Regions from separate parts of the Homo sapiens genome. Here region 1 is linked to region 2. Evidence: promoter capture Hi-C in 16 types of primary human blood cells and fetal thymus (Javierre and others, 2016). All regions are on one chromosome and are shown on one strand. The core of a region is centred on a gene start or on the middle of the fragment in contact, and the rest is flanking DNA. Distances in the headings are between cores, read along the strand shown.

Region 1 (5,543 bases), core at 529-3,028, 130 kb before region 2:
TACTGCCAGCATGGTCCCACCAACAGAGGCAATGAGCTGAGCTCCAACCTCAGACCAGGATAGGCACCAGCAAAGATGAACAGGACTGGGGACCCAGTACCCCTCTGTGGGCATGGGGGCACGCAATCGCTTCCTCCTCCCCTCTTCCCTTTCCCTGCTGCTGACACTGGTGCCTCTTTTGTTTTGGGAGTCTTTCCATGTTGCTTGTCCCTAACATCAAAATTACAAGCTAAGAAGCTGAAGACAGAGGATTTCTTTCAAATTAGTGTTAGAATTCTTTCAACGGTTATTTATTGAGCACTTACTATATGCTATTGTAGTAGCTAGGCATGCAGCACTAAACAAAATAGAATTTACATTCTGGTGGAAAGAAACTGCGGTGACCAAGTAATTAATCTTTGGAGAGAATTTCACGTATGTGTGCATTTGCCTTTTATGTGCTTCCACATAAATCAAGCTTGTCCAACCCATGGCCCATGGGCCACACGCAGTCCAGGATGGCTTTGAATGCGGCCCAACACAAGCTTGTAAACTTTCTTAAAACATTATGAGATTTTTTAATTTATTGGCAATTTTTTTTAGCTCATCAACTATAGTTAGTGTATTTCATGTGTGCCCCAAGACAATTCTTCTTCCAATGTGGTCTAGGGAAGCCAAAAGATTGGACACCCCTGCATAAATCAACATATTTATAAGGCACATTACAGTTACTTTGAGGATTCTCATTGAGACAGTTCCTCAAGGGACAATTATTATAAGAAGGCATAGGTGACAAATCACAAACACCAACAAAATTTACACAATGGATTTATTGACCATCTAGGCTGTGCAAGAGACACTTTCGTTTTAAGGCTTACTATATTGCAGGAAGCATATTACAACCACAAACTGAGTGCTCTTTAATGGTCAAAAATAAACCCCAAACTTACATCTTTGTTTCGTTTTAACCAGGTAGCTAAAAAGCAAAAATGAAAGTTTAGATAAATTTTTATTGTGGTAAAAGATACGTAACATAAAATATACCATTTTAACAATTTTTAAGTGTACAGTTCAGTGGCATTAATCGCATTCACATTGTAGTGCAACCATCACCACTCTCCATTGCCAGGACTTTTTTCATCTTTCTGAACTGAAACTCTAACTAATAAACAATAACTCCTCCTTCCCTCCACATTCTTGCCCCTAACAACGACCATTCTGCTTTCTGTCTGTGAATTTGCCTGACACAGGTACCTCATATAAGTGGAACTGTACAGTATTTGTCTTTTTATGACTAGTTTATTTCACTTAGCATAATGTCTTCAAGGTTCATCCATATGTAGCATGTATCAGAATTTTATTCCTTTTCAAGGCTAAATGATATTGCATTGTATGCATATACCACATTTTGTTTATCCGTTCATATACTGATGGATATGGGGTGTTTCCATCTTTTGGCTGTTGAGAATCAATCTGCAATAAACATTATCATACAAGTAGCTGAGTCCCCACTTCCAATTCTTTGGTTATATATGTAAGAATGGAATTGCTGGGTCATGTGGCAATTTTACACTTGACTTTTGAAGGAACCACACCAAACTGTTTTCCACAATGACTGCACCATTTTAAATGCCTGCTATCAATGTACAAAGGTTTCAATTTCTCTACATCCTTGTAAACATTTATTTTGTGTTTTTAAAATTATAGTCATCTTAGTAGCTGTAAAGTGGTGTCTCATTGTGGTTTTGATTGGCATTTTTATAATGATTAATAATGTTGAGATTAATGACCAATTATTTGCAAATCTTCTTTGGAGAAATGTCTATTCAGGTCCTTTCTCCTTCTTATGTATTGGGTTATATGTTTTGTATTTTTGTTGTTGAGTTCCGGGAGTTATTTATATATTCTGGATATTAATCCCATTCCAGATATATGATTTGCAAATATTTTCTCCCATTCTGTAGTTGTCTTTTACTGTCTTGATAATGTCCTTTGATATACAAATATTTTGATGAAGTCAAATTTATCTACTCTTTCTTTTGTTTCTTGTGCTTTTGGTGTCCTGAAAATCTACTACTGAACTCAAGATTATAACAGCTTATTCCTATGTTGTCTTCTAAGAGTTTTGTTTTAAGACTTTATTATTTTAGAGGAGTTTTAGGTTCACAGCAAAATTAGGTGGAAGATACAAAAATTTCCCATGTGCCTTTTATCCTACGTATGCACAGCCTCCCCCACTATCAAAATATCTCATGAGAGTGGTGCATACAATTAATGAACCTACCTTGACACACCATAATCACCCAAAGTTCGTAGTTTACCTTAGAATTCACACTTTGTGTTGTATATTCTACAGGTTTAAACAAATGTATCCATCATTGCAGTATTATACAGAATCTTTTCACTGCCCTAAAAAAATCTTCTGTGTATTCAAAGATTTTACGATCATTGATCCATGAGTTAACTTTTATATATGATGTGAGGTAAGGGTCCAACTTCATTCTCTTGCATATTGAAATCCAATTGTCTTTGCACTGTTTGTGGAAAAGACTATTACTTCCTCCCTTGAATGAACTTGGCATCTATGTCAAAAATAAATTGGCCATACTGGGCACGGTGGCTCATGCCTGTAATCCCAGCACTTTGGGAGGCTGAAGTGGGCAGATCATGAGGTCAGGAGATTGAGACCATCCTGGCTAACATGGTGAAACCCTGTCTCTACTAAAAATACAAAAAAATTAGCCAAGTGTGGTGGTGGGCGCCTGTAGTCTCAGCTACTTGGGAGGCTGAGGCAGGAGAATGGTGTGAACCCGGGAGGTGGAGCTTGCAGTGAGCTGAGATCATGCCACTGCACTCCAGCCTGGGTGACAGAGCAAGACTCCATCTCAAAAATAAATAAAATAATAAAATAAAATAAAATAAAATAAAATAAAATAAAATAAAATAAATTGGCCATAGATGTATGGGTTTATTTCTGGACTCTCATTCTATTACATTGGTTTATATGTTTATATCTAGGCCAGTACCACATTGTTTTGCTTTTTGTAACTTTGTAAGCTTTGAAATTAGGAAGTGTGACTCCTCCAAATTTGTTTTTCTTTTTAAAGATTGTTTTGACTATTCCAGGGCCCTTGCAATTGCCTATGAATTTGAGGATTGACTTTTTCATTTCTGCAGCAAAGGCTGCTGGAATTGTGAAAGCGATTTTATTGAATCTATGTATTGCTTCAGGTACTATTAACAGCTTAACAGTATTAAGTCTTCTAATCTGTGAACACAAAATGTCTTTCCATTTATTTCTTTAATTTCTTTCTTTAATTTCCTACAGCAAAGTTTTGTAGTTTTCACTGTACAATTCTTTCACCCACTTAGTTACATTTATCTCTAGGTGTTTATTCTTTTAGAAGTTGTTATAAATGGAATTGCTTTAATTTTCTTTTTTGATTGTTTATTGCTGGTATATAGGAACACAACTGAGTTTTTTGTGTTAATCTTGTAGCCTGTGATTTTGCTGGATTTGTATTCCTGTCGACTCTAGAATTTTCTATATATAGGATCATGTCCTCACAAATAGAGATAGTACTACTTTTTCCTTTTTCATTTGAATGCCTGTCCTTTCTTTTTCTTGTTTAATTTTTGTGGCTAGAACTTATAATGTTGAATAGAAGGAATGAAAGTGGGCATCCTTGTCTTGTTAGGAGGAAATCTAAAAAATCTTAAAGGAGAAAGCTTCACTATTGAGTATGCTGTTAGCTGTGGGTTTTTTATAATTGCTCTTTATCATATTTAGGCAGTTCCTTTCTATTTCCTAGTTTTCTGGGTTTAAAAAAATCATGAAAGGGGGTTGAAAATGCCTTTTCTGCATCAATTGAGATGAGCATGCATCTTTTCCCCTTGTTATATTAATTTAATTGATCTGTTACATTGATTATTTCAAAATTTTGAGCCACCTTTGCATCCTGGGGTAAATCCTACTGAGTCATGGTGTATAATTATTTTAATGTGTCATTTGATTTGGTTTGCTAGTATTTTGTTGAAGTTTTTGCATCTCTATTCATATGGGATATTGGTCTATACTTTTCTTCTGATGTCTTTTTCTAGTTTGACATCTGGGTTATGATGTCCTTATAATATGAGTTCCCATAAAAAGTATTCCCTCCTCTATTTCAAGGATGGGAGGAAGAGTTTATAGAGAATTGGTGTTAATTCTTTAAATGTTTAGTATAATTTACCAGTGAAGCCATCTGGTCTTGGACATATCTTTGTTAGGAGGTTTTGATTACTGATTCAATCTCCTGTTTTATATTTGTTGAGATTTTCTATTTCTTCATGAGTCACTTCAGGTAATTTGTGTGTTTCCAGAAATTCATCAATTTCATCTAGGTTATCTAATTTGTTGGCATACAGTTGTTCATAGTATTCTCTTATAATTTTTTATTTCTGTAAAATCTGTACTAATACCTCCACTTTCATTTCTTATTTTAGTTATATGTGTCTTCTCTCTTTTTGGTTTGCTGCTTTAGCTGAAGACTTGCCAATTTTGTGGCACTTTTTAACAAGCCAACATTTGGGTTTATTGATTCTTTTTTTTTTTTTTAAACGAAGACTCGCTCCTTCGCCAGGCTGGAGTGCAATGGCATGATCTCGGCTCACTGCAATCTCCACCTCCTGGGTTCAAGTGATTCTCCTGCCTCAGCCTCCCAAGTAGCTGGGACTACAGGTGTATGCCACCAAACGCAGCTAACTTTTATATTTTTAGTAGAGACGGGGTTTCACCATGTTGGCCAGGATGGTCTCGATCTTTTGACCTCGTGATCCACCCGCCTTGGCCTCCCAAAGTGCTGAGACTACAGGCGCAAGCCACCGCACCTGGCCTATTTTTTTCATTCTCAGCTATATTTATCTCCATTCTAATCTTTATTTCCTTCCTTCTAGCTTTACAGAAAGAAGTTTAGTTTTCTTCTTCTTTCTTTAGATCCTAAAGGTGTAAAGTTAGGTTTATTGATTTGAAATCTTTCTTCTTTTTAAAGGTAGGCATTGGCCAGGCACAGTGGCTCACACCAGTAATCCCAGCACTTTGGGAGGCTGAGGCTGGAGGATCACCTGAGGTCAGGAGTTCACGACCAGCCTGGCCAACATGGTGAAACCCCATCTCTACTAAAAATGCAAAAATTAGCTGGGCGTGGTGGCGTCCACCTGTGATCCCAGCTACTTAGGAGGCTAAGGCAGGAGAATTGCTTGAACCCAAGAGGCAGAGGTTGCAGTGAGCCGAGATCACACCTCTGCACTCCAGCCTGGGCGACAGAGTGAAACTCCGTCTCAAAACAAACAAACAAACAAATAAATAAAGGTAAGCATTTACAGCTGTAGATTTCCTTTTAAGCATTGCTTTTGTTGCATTCATAAGTTTTTGTATGTAATACTTAAGTTTTTAATCATCTCAGTGTATTTGCTAATTTCCCTTGTGATTATTTCATTGATCATTGGTTGTTTAAAAGCATGTAATTTAATGTCCACATATTTGTGACTTTTCCATTTTTCCTTCTGTTCCTGGTTTCTGTTCC
Region 2 (5,007 bases), core at 1,893-4,392:
ATACCCCTAAGTATTGAAGTGCGTAGTAAATGATAATAGCCCTGATTTGTTGAACATGATGATGTGCCAGGCATTGCGCAAAGCATCATTTCATCATCACAACAAACACTGCTGGGAGGCAGGGACACCCCCACCCTCCTTGTACACCCAGAAGTAGGACTTTGGTTAAATGGCTCTCCCAAGGCCTCACAGCCTTAAAAACTCAAGCACTTATTTAATCCCCAATGATACTACCTTTTGGCCATGCAATGTGTCATGGCCAGTAATTAGATTTGCAAACACATATAACCAAAGAGGATTAGAAGAGACATATATTCTATATAAATTACATGAAAATAGCACTTTCAGTATTTTCCTGATTTTTTCTGGTAATTAAAAATGATTGCCCTTTATATTTCTTTATGGATACAGTTGCATTGTTTTTAGCCAATTGTAGCCCCCCCCTTTAAAGAGTGAATTAGTGGGAAAATAGTGTTATCCAAGATTTTAAGAATCTAGTGTGTGTGTTTGTGTGTGTAGGATGGGTTTTTCTGAAATATTTTACTTGCATGTGAATGTATAATTTTAAAGATTGGCTTTTAAAATACTGAATTGAGGTAAATTCAGCTTTTCTTGCAGACTCTTTACGATAAATGTGAAATTGAAAATGGAAATGCTCCATTCAGATGGTGTGCCGACTACAACCTCAACATACGGATAATTCACTAAATAAGTAACTTCCTCGTGGAATATCACGGTCAGCCTTTGTTTTGGGTACACATTCAATGAACTGGTTTCCTATTAGTTTCTGCTTGTCAACAAGTTGTGTCATTTACTGATAAATATCCAGCCTTTTACTAAGGAATACCGATTTTCTCAAGTCTCAGTGTGTGGAGGGGGTGGGAGTTTGGTGGGGAAGCTTTTCAATTTGAGAACCTTTGCCGTTTTTTGTTTCAATCGTGACTAAGATATAAAAGTCCTTGGTCACCACTGCCAGCTGCTACCTGTTCACTGCCTCCCTGACGGGTAATGAGGCCATCCGGAGTTTTAGTGATTAAAATGTTTTATTACTTGTATTCACATCATCATTAAGAAAAATAACTTCTAGTGGATCAATATGGCAAATGAGTAAACCAGAAGATGGCGTTGAAGATTAGCAATTACATTTAAAAACAAGGTAGTGGTGTGAAGGCTCAGAGTTTCACACAACGACTGTTGTTCTGAACTAAAAGCAGAGGATGTGGATGAGTGAGGGGAGGGTATGTTGAAAATGACTAAACCCGGTGCAGAGGACACGTATACGAAAGTGCAAAAAGCTCTCATTTGCCATTTTTTGTCCTCAGCAAACTCCTCTCTGGTATGTTTGTGAACGTTTGAGGGAAAGGTAACACTGATTAAAATATAATGCAACAAGAAGGCAACGATCTTTGCTTTGTTCACTGATGTGTTCCAAGTGCCTAGGACGGTTCCTGACAAGTAGCAGGTGCTCAAAATACATTTGTCAAGTGAATAAATCTGTGAAAGGAAAGGAAGAAAAACAGGTTGTGACCAGAACTTTTTGTGAACAAAACCCTGTTGTTTATTACATAGACTTTGGTAATGGAAAACTTACTTGGGTGAAATAAAAAATGGCATCCTGTTAATTTCTGAGAACGTCTGTTGGTTTTAGGAAAAGCATACCTATCCATACCTCACTACCTGTTTTGCTCTAGCCTAAACATAGATTCTTCTTTGGTTAGGAGACATTGACCCAATATATAAGATTAAAACAAAAACTGAGAAATAAGTGAAATCAAAAGCTTTTCAAAAGTTGCAGGTTGACCTACGGTGGTGGTGGTCTAAAATCATATAGAAACCAGAGATCTGATGGTTTACCTGAAAATGCGAAGTAAATGCACATACTCAGCATCTCAGACGATCGAAAGCTCAACGGGTGAAAGCTCAGGGGGTTAATTTTGCGATTAAGGACATCTTGGAAAAGTATGTAAAATCCCTGGTCCACTTAAGTATTATTCCTATTTTGGGCTTTTATTTATTTATTTTGAGATGGAGTCTTGCTCTGTCGCCCACCTCGGCTCACTGCAACTTCAGCCTCCCGGGTTCAAGCGATTCTCGTGGCTCGTCCTCTCAAGTAGCTGGGGCCACGCCCGGCTAATTTTTGTATTTTTAGTAGAGATGGGGTTTCACCGTGTTGGCCAGGCTGGTCTCGAACTCCTGACCTCAGGCGATCCACCGCCTCGGCCTCCCAAAGTGCTGGGATTACAGGCTTGAGCCACAGCGCCTGGCCTATTTTGGGCTTTTATACCCCACTGGTAAACTGCTTTCCTCCAGGTTGAGGTTAAAACGACATCATTTTAAGGTGAACTGAAGTCTGGAAGTGATTAAGCACTTGGATCCTTAGGGAGCCTCTCCCCGCCCCCATCTCTTTCATGCTAAGATAATTAAAACTTCGGGGCCGGGGCATTGTCTGAGTCACTTCAATTCACCAGCCTAATAGATGCAAAAGGATGTAAGCATGTCAGACACGCAGAGACAGTATTTGAATCAAGCTTAATAGCTCAAGGGAGCTGGGCCATTTCCTATTTTCTTTTTAGTGAGTGCGATGTTCTCTAAACACCGCGGAGAGGCAGGGTTCCCGGTGATGGCCTTGCCGAGGGTGCTCCCGCAACCTCCACCTCCAGTTCTCTTTGGACCATTCCTCCGTCTTCCGTTACACGCTCTGCAAAGCGAAGTCCCCTTCGCACCAGATTCCCGCTACTACACGCCCCCCATTTCCCGCCCTGGCCACATCGCTGCAGTTTAGTGATTGACTGGCCTCCTGAGGTCCTGGCGCAAAGGCGAGATTCGCATTTCGCACCTCGCCCTTCGCGGGAAACGGCCCCAGTGACAGTCCCCGAAGCGGCGCGCGCCCGGCTGGAGGTGCGCTCTCCGGGCGCGGCGCGCGGAGGGTCGCCAAGGGCGCGGGAACCCCACCCCGGCCGCGGCAGCCCCCAGCCTTCACGCCGGCCCTGAGGCTCGCCCGCCCGGCCGGCCCCGGCTCTCGGCTTGCAAAGTCCCTCTCCCCAGTCCAACCCCCGGCCCCCACAGGCCTCGGCGCCCCGCCCCGCCCCAGGCCCCGCCCCAGAGAGTTCTATAAAGTTCCTCTTTCCCACCTCGCACTCTCAGTTTCACCGCTCGATCTTGGGACCCACCGCTGCCCTCAGCTCCGAGTCCAGGGCGAGGTAAGGGCTGGAGTCGGGCAGGAGGAGGGGTGTGAGGCTGATACCAGAGAGGACCCGGAGCGCGAACCAGAGGTTCGACCTCCAGGGCAGCGCAGGGTACCCCGGCTTCGGAGCGGGAAGGGAGCGCGCCCCGTCCTGGAGCTCCGACTCCCACCCCATCTGCGCTGAGCCGGAGGCGCTGGTTTGGGCTCCAAGGCCCGCCTCCTTGGCTCTGCCCGAGCCTCCCCGCCTGCCCTCCGCGCTCCTGCGACGGGGTCGCCACAAGCTGGACGGGATGAGCTAACCGGACTGTCGGGGCCCCAGGAGTGGCTGAGGCGGGGCCGTCCAAGGCACCCACACAAGACGGCACAACTGCCTGCGAGAAACAGGCCCGGCCCTGTGGACCCCAATCCGAGGCTCCTTCCCCTGCTCTTCGTTCCTAAGGGGCCCAAGCTCACGGCGGCCTCCGGCGCGGTGCTCACCCGCTGGCGCAGGAGGAGGAGGAGCTCCACATTTGGGTCGCTCCGAGCCTTGCGTGCGGTGGCCTAGCCGGCCTGGCGCGGTCCCTGCCTCCCAGGCTCCGCAGCTGTCGTCGCCCTCTCCCGCGCCCTCCCCGCCTCCGCTCTCCCGGGCCTGCTCCGGGGTCCGGCGGACGCTCTGCGCGCGGAATCCCCCGTACTGGGGCTGCAGCCCCCGCGTCTGCGCCACTTGTCGTTTGCAGAGCCCACTTAGTGCGCGCTAGCTGGGCAGGGATAGGGGTCCTATTCGGGGCGAAGGGTCTGGATGCGAGCAGAGAAAGCGGAGGGTGGAGGAACCCGGGGCTGCGCCCCTGGAACGCCCGGCCGCAGGCGAGGTCCTCCGCGCGTGGAGGCCGCCAGGGGAGTGGAAACTGACAGAGTCGCGGGGAAGGGGCGAGAAGCGGGTTGGGAGTGAGCGAAGGCAAGCGAGAGCTGCGAGTGAGTGCGGAAGGAGGGCCAGGAGGGGTGGCGGCTGGGTGGGGAGAGAGGGTGCAAGACGAGCGGCGCGTGTCGGGAGCCTTTGGGCTGCGGGTGCGTTACAGGAGAGCAGGCGGGTAGGAGCCTTCGCGGGGGCCGAGCTCGGAAGGCGGACGGCTGTGCCCGCCCAGGGGATGCGCCCGGGCCGGCCGCGAAGGTGCCTTCTTCCGGGGGCCCGGACGACCCTGACACGGCACGCGCGCGCTTCGCAGCCTCAAAGACTCCGGGGCCTCGTGGTCACTGGCGCAGGGGATCGGGGCGGGGTGCCCGGAGTGCGGTGCCTCGTGGCTGAAGGGCAGCTCTTCTCCCCGCAGTGCAGAGCAGAGCGGGCGGAGGACCCCGGGCGCGGGCGCGGACGGCACGCGGGGCATGAACCTGGAGGGCGGCGGCCGAGGCGGAGAGTTCGGCATGAGCGCGGTGAGCTGCGGCAACGGGAAGCTCCGCCAGTGGCTGATCGACCAGATCGACAGCGGCAAGTACCCCGGGCTGGTGTGGGAGAACGAGGAGAAGAGCATCTTCCGCATCCCCTGGAAGCACGCGGGCAAGCAGGACTACAACCGCGAGGAGGACGCCGCGCTCTTCAAGGTCTCCGGCCTCGGGAGCCGGCGGGGGCGCGCCGGGGAGGGCCCAGAGACAGAGCCCGGGGTCCCCGGCGCCGCCTCCGAGGCGAGCCCAGGGGACCGCGCGGGGCGGACGGGCGGGCGGCGGAGGCATCAGGTGGCGTCGCCGGAGCCGCAGGAGGAGGAAAGGAGGCCTCGGCTCTCAGCGGGACCGCGGGGGCCGGGAGCCGGGTCCTGGGCGCGTGGAGGCTGCAGGGAAACCGCTGAAGGCCC

Evidence for each region. Contacts are between HindIII fragments. The CHiCAGO score rates a contact against its expected background, and 5 or more counts as called.
Region 1: a fragment that was not itself captured here is called in contact with the fragment with the promoter of IRF4 in region 2 in 2 of 17 cell types (total B cells and naive B cells); the score reaches 6.8 in total B cells.

The regions. Positions count from the first base shown.
Region 1 is chr6:259,147-264,689 of GRCh38, forward strand. No RefSeq gene overlaps it. Among named protein-coding and RNA genes, the nearest start is that of DUSP22, 31 kb to the right of the region's middle. The HindIII fragment of the contact is 2,512 bases long and covers 523-3,034 here.
Region 2 is chr6:388,610-393,616 of GRCh38, forward strand. It overlaps IRF4 (interferon regulatory factor 4), which reads left to right and starts at 3,143. Exons shown (of 9, transcript NM_002460.4): 1 at 3,143-3,200; 2 at 4,489-4,759. The coding sequence starts at 4,544. RefSeq lists an enhancer at 1,113-1,162 and silencers at 2,830-3,219, 3,460-3,529, 3,810-3,859, 4,030-4,079, 4,190-4,299 and 2 more. The HindIII fragment of the contact is 5,232 bases long and covers 2,527-5,007 here.